Regions from separate parts of the Homo sapiens genome. Here region 1 is linked to region 2. The links are contacts of gene promoters, found by promoter capture Hi-C in human tissues and cell types (Jung and others, 2019). All regions are on one chromosome and are shown on one strand. Each heading gives the region's core, a stretch centred on a gene start or on the middle of the fragment in contact. The rest is flanking DNA. Distances are from core to core; before and after follow the strand shown. Region 1 overlaps TROAP-AS1 (TROAP and PRPH antisense RNA 1). Region 2 holds the start of RHEBL1 (RHEB like 1).

Region 1 (3,015 bases), core at 58-2,557, 250 kb before region 2:
AATCTAATTCATTGCTTATACCTGCTACATAGGATTCCATGGTAGGCATCCATTATACTTTACTTACCCATTCCTGACTTCTACACACAATGCCAGACAGTTATCTCTTTCATAGTCCCCTGTGAACCAGTTCAAGAATTTCTCTGGAACATATTCCTCGGAGTGGAATTTCTGTGGTAAGGTATATGCATGCTCAATTTTACTAAGTAGCACCAGATTATTTTTCAGAAAATCTGTAGCTGTAAACCGGGCATGGCACACACTTGTAGTCCCAGCTTCTTAGAAGGCTGAGGTAGGAGGATTGCCTGAGCTCAGGAGTTTGAAGCCAGCTTTGATAACAGTGAGACACTCTAAAAAAAACCCTGAAAAACAAAACCAAGCAAGAAAACCCAGGTCTGTAGCTGTTTACAGTCTCAACATCATTACTGAAAGTTCTTATTACCTCATACCCTTTCCAACACGTAATATTATACAACTCTCTAATATTTGCAATTCTAATAGGTATATTAAGTGTACTCTCAGTTATTTAAAATTACATTTCTCTGATTACTAGTGAGTTTGAGTGTTACTTCATATTCTTTTTTTTTTTTCTTGAGATGGAGTCTCACTCTGTTACCAAGGCTGGAGTGCAGTGGCACGATCTTGGCTCACTGCAACGTCAGCCTCCCAAGTTCAAGCGATCCTCCTGCCTCAGCCCCCCTAGTAGCTGGGATTACAGGCACCCACAACCATCCCTGGCTAATTTTTGTATTTTTCATAGAGACAGGGTTTCGCCATGTTGGCCAGGCTGGTTTCCAACTCCTGACCTCAGGTGATCCACCCACCTTGGCCTCCCAAAGTGCTGGGATTACAGGTGTGAGCCACTGCGCCTGGCTATTTCATATTCTTGTTAGCCAATAAAGCTTCCTTCTCTCTGAAATGCCTATTCATATCCTTTGTGCTTTTTTTATTTTGGATTCCTGTCTTTACTTTTGTTCCTTCATAAGATTACACTATATTATGAATATTAATCCCACATTCACTTTTTTAAAAATTATTTTATTTTATTTTATTTATTATTACTTTTTGAGATGGAGTCTTGCTCTGTCACCCATACTGGAGTACAGGGGCCTGATGTCGGCTCACTGAAACCTCTACCTCCTGGGTTCAAGTGATTCTCCTGCATCAGCCTCCCAAGTAGCTGGGATTACAGACACGCACCACCACGCCTGGCTAATTTTCTTTTCTTCTTCTTCTTTTTTTTTTTTTGAGACTGAGTCTTGCTCTGTCACCAGGCTGGAGTGCAGTGGCGCAATCTCGGCTCACTGCAACCCCTGCCTCCTGGGTTCAAGGGATTCTCCTGCCTCAGCCTCCCGAGTAGCCGGGATTACACGTGCCTGCCACCATGCCCAGCTAATTTTTGTATTTGTAGTAGAGATGGGGTTTCACCATGTTGGCCAGGATGGTCTCGATCTCCTGACCTCGTGATCCGCCTGGCTCAGCCTCCCAAAGTGCTGGGATTAGAGGTGTGAGCCACCACGCCCGACCTCTTTTTTTTTTTTTTTTTTTTCAGGAAGAGTTTTGCTCTGTCTCCCAGGCTAGAGTTCAGTGGCCCGATCTCAGCTCACTGAAACCTCTGCCTCCTGGGTTCAGCGATTCTCCTGCCTCAGCCTCCCGAGTGGCTGAGATTACAGGTGCTCGCCACCATGCTTGGCTAATTTTTGTATTTTTAGTAGAGATGGGGTTTCACCATGTTGGCCAGGCTGGTCTCAAACTCCTGACCTCAGGTGACTGCCCACCTCAGTCTCCCAAAGTGCTGGGATTACAGGCATGAGCCATGGTGCCTGGCCACGCCTGGCTAATTTTTATATTTTTTAGTAGAGGGGGGTTTTGCCATGTTGACCAGGCTGGTTTAGAACTCCTGACCTCAGATGATCTGCCTGCTTCGGCCTCCTAAAGTGCTGGTATTACAGGAGTGAGCCACTGCACCCAGCCCCATATCCACTTTATTTATTTATTTATTATTATTATTTATTTATTTATTTATTTTTTGAGACAGAGTCGTGCTCTGTCGCCAGGCTGGAGTGCAGTGGCGCGATGTCGGTTCACTGCAGCTTCCACCTCCCGGGTTCAAGCAATTCTCCTGCCTCAGCCTTCCGAGTAGCTGGGACTACAGGTGTGCGCCACCATGCCCAGCTAATTTTTTGTATTTTAGTAGAGATGGGGTTTCACCATGTTGGTTAGGCTGGTCTTGAACTCCCAACCTCAGATGATCCGCCCGCCTTGGCCTCCCAAAGTGTTGGGATTACAGGCGTAAGCCACCGCGCCCAACCTATTATTATTATTATTATTGAGTCTTGGTCTGTCGCCCAGGCTGAAGTGCAGTGGCTCGATCTCGGCTCACTGTGAGTTCAAGTGATTCTCCTGCCTCAGCTTCCTAAGTCTCTGGGTCTACAGGTGTGCACCACCAGGCCCAGATAATTTTTGTATTTTTAGTAGAGACGGGGTTTCACCATGATGGCCAAGTGGTCTTGAACTTCTAACCTCAGGTGATGTGCCCACCTTAGCCTCCCAAAATGCTGGGATTACAGGCGTGAGCCACCACATCTGGCTCCCCATATCCACTTTAAACATTGCAAATATTTTCTTATAATTGATTTTCTATCCAATGAACTCTTTTCTTATTTTTCTATTGATTCTTCTAGGTTTTCTACAGAGATAATTATGTCCTCTGTAAACAAAACAGTTTTACATATTCCCCTTCAATCTTTATACCTCGTTAGATTTTTTGTTATTCTTGTTTTGTTTGTTTGTTTTTTTTTTTTTTTTTTTTTGAGACGGAGTCTTGCTCTGTCGCCCAGGCTGGAGTGCAGTGGCACAATCTCGGCTTACTGCAACCTCCGCCTCCCGGGTTCACGCCATTCTCCTGCCTCAGCCTCCCAAGTAGCTGGGACTACAGGCGCCCGCCACCACGCCTGGCTAATTTTTTGTATTTTTAGTAGAGACAGGGTTTCACCACATTAGCCAGGATGGTCT
Region 2 (2,844 bases), core at 182-2,681:
CTTTAGGCTAACTGGCTTTCTTTTTTTCTTCCCCTCTTCCTGGAATTTACCCAATTTATTTCCATCTTAACGCCTTAGCATTGGTGGATTCTTCTTGTGAAATCTCCTAGTTGGTTCCTTCAGATCTTAGTTTAAATGGGGTTTCCTATGAGAGAAAGTATCACTAAAGTGGTCATCTCAGCCAGGCTCGGTGGCTCACGTCTGTAATCCCAGCACTTTGGGAGGCCGGGTCAGGTGGATCACTTGAGGCTAGGCGTTCGAGACCAGCCTGGGCAACATAGCAAAACCCCATCTCTCCCCAAAATACAAAAATTAGCCAGTCTCATAACCCTGTCTCAAAATAAATAAAGAAAAAAAATTAAAAATGCTGTATTGTCTTTAAAAAATAAAGTGGTCGGCCGGGCGCGGTGGCTCACGCCTGTAATCCCATCACTTTGGGAGGCCGAGGCGGGCGGATCACGAGGTCAGGAGATGGAGGCCATGCTGGCTAACACGGTGAAACCCCGTCTCTACTAAAAATACAAAAAATTAGCCGGGCGCGGTGGCGGGCGCCTGTAGTCCCAGCTACTCTGGAGGCTGAGGCAGGAAAATGGCGTGAACCCGGGAGGCGGAGCTTGCAGTGAGCCGAGATAGAGCCACTGCCCTCCGGCCTGGTAGAAAGAGCGAGATTCCGTCTCAAAAAAAATAAAAATAAAAATAAAAAAATAAAAAAAATAAAGTGGTCATCTTTCATCACACCATCTTCTACAGCACTTAACACTCTCTGATATTTCCTTGTTGTATGTTTGTTTCTCCCTTCATAAGAGCAGACACATTGTCTGTGATGTCCATGTTCTGACCCCAAAGCTGGAGCAATGCCTGAAACATGTAGTATATACTCAGTATTTGTTGAAAAATGAATATTTGAGGATCATGATGATGAAGAAGAAACCTCAGACTACTTGATCATAAATTCTAGCAATTTCTGCAAGAATAAGAATTGCAGTTTGAAATTAGATGCTGGAAGACTGGAAACCTTGATAGGTCTGGGGCTGAAGGCTGGGGGAAGCAGAAGGAATATACTAGAACTTTGGCGGTTTTCTCCCTATCTAAGGACCCCAGAGACCATGCAAAAGGGAGGGCTAGAATCTTATGACCGGAAACCACAAAACGGGTATTTTCCATCCATAATTCTTCGAAGCCACTTCAGCTAGGCTGTAAATGCGCAAACGCCTTTAGGACCCCGGGTTCCTTTCTGTTTCTTTATGAATGAACCGGCTCCAGTCTGCGCACGCGCAGCTCCCAGTTCTCCCGCTCCACGTGAGGCCCACCCTTCCCTCCTGCTGGCGGCACCGCCCTTACCCATTCTAATGGACCAATGGCGAGCGGCCTGGGGGGCGGAGCCCGGCGCGGCGCGGCTCAGTAGTTCCCCGGGCGCCCGGCTCCCTGGCGTTAGACGTGCTGTGTTGTGATCACGTGGGCAGCTCCGGGCGCGGCGCTTGTTTTGGTTTCCTTCTAACTTGCCCACGGCAGCTTCGGGGTGAGCGACTTTCCTGCACCAGCTGCCGCGCCTGCTCACACCCTGACCTCGTTTTCGGGCTCTCTGAGCCCGCAGTTCCGCAAGCCCCTGGGGCGGGCTCCTGCCATGCCGCTAGTCCGCTACAGGAAGGTGGTCATCCTCGGATACCGCTGTGTAGGTGAGTCTCCGCCCTGCAGAGCTCGGACGCGCAGCAGCTTTGTAGCCAGAAGAGGCGCGCTGCCGTGGGAACGCGACCCAGGGAGGAATGATGACATCGTAAGGATGGGGTTGTAGAGCGAGGATTGGAAGAGTGGAGGAATGGAAGAGTGGAGGATTGGAAGAGTTGGTGGTGTGTGGAGGCTGCAGGAAGCGGGAGCACTTAAGGGTTAATGCGGACCTGGCTGCGGGAATCTCAGAGTGGTCCCAGCGTTACTTTGGGGATAGGGGTGGGGTCACAATTTGAAAACCGGGACGCGGTCTCCGTGGGGACAGATAGTCGCAGGTGTCCTGGGGCGGGGCGGACTTGATCCTAGGGAATCTTGGATCTTCCTACGAGTGGGATGGGGTGGGGAAGGCGGCGGGAAAGGCTTCCTGCTGCGCTTCTGAATGCATCCGGTAGCCAAAGTGCGGAGACCCTGGGTGAAAAGAGGGTGAGGGTAGACACAAAGGATAGCATTGCTTGAGGCACTCACAGACTGTGGTGTTAATTTGGGGTCTCCTTTGGTCCTGGGCCACAGTCCGAAAGGACAGAGGATGTGAATGTGGATGGATGATTTGGATACAACTGTCACACTGCTCCCCACAGGGAAGACATCTTTGGCACATCAATTTGTGGAAGGCGAGTTCTCGGAAGGCTACGATCCTACAGTGGAGAATAGTGAGTAGACTTCTCCCCTAGTGTGCTGGTGGTATGCGACCCGGAGGGCTTGGATACCCCACCCAACTCCATAATTTATTTCTCTGGTGCCAAGGGGCTGATTTATTTAGACATTACATCTGATTTCTTCTTTAGCAATCCTGTTCGATGGATGGCTAGAGTATGGATTTTGCAAGATATTGAGTCTGGGATAGTTTAGATGTAGACATTAAGAACCTTAGCGTGTCTTTCCAGTTACCTGGATAACTCCCTGGAGCTGATCTATCTGTGTCACCCCCAAGGTTAAGAATGTAAGGGGAGGCTGGGCGCAGTGGCTCATGCCTGTAATCCCAGCACTTTGGGAAGCTGAGGCGGGCGGATGGATTGAGGTCTGGATTTCGAGACCAACCTGGCCAACATGGTGAAACCTCATCTCTACTAAAAATACCAAAATTAGCTGGGCATGGTGGCGCACGCCTGTAATCCCAGC

The links. The method cuts DNA at HindIII sites, captures the fragments that hold promoters and counts their contacts. A contact is called where the count stands out against the background at its distance.
Region 1: a contact is called between a fragment that was not itself captured here and the fragment with the promoter of RHEBL1 in region 2, in 1 of the 25 tissues and cell types used here (spleen).

Annotation. Positions count from the first base shown.
Region 1 is chr12:49,316,308-49,319,322 of GRCh38, reverse strand. All of the region lies in intron 2 of TROAP-AS1 (TROAP and PRPH antisense RNA 1), which reads left to right. Among named protein-coding and RNA genes, the nearest start is that of TROAP, 5.4 kb to the left of the region's middle. The HindIII fragment of the contact is 5,248 bases long and covers 1-3,015 here.
Region 2 is chr12:49,068,566-49,071,409 of GRCh38, reverse strand. It overlaps RHEBL1 (RHEB like 1), which reads left to right and starts at 1,431. Exons shown (of 8, transcript NM_144593.3): 1 at 1,431-1,676; 2 at 2,304-2,375. The coding sequence starts at 1,625. RefSeq lists enhancers at 988-1,037, 1,408-1,717 and a silencer at 1,268-1,387. The HindIII fragment of the contact is 9,146 bases long and covers 1-2,844 here.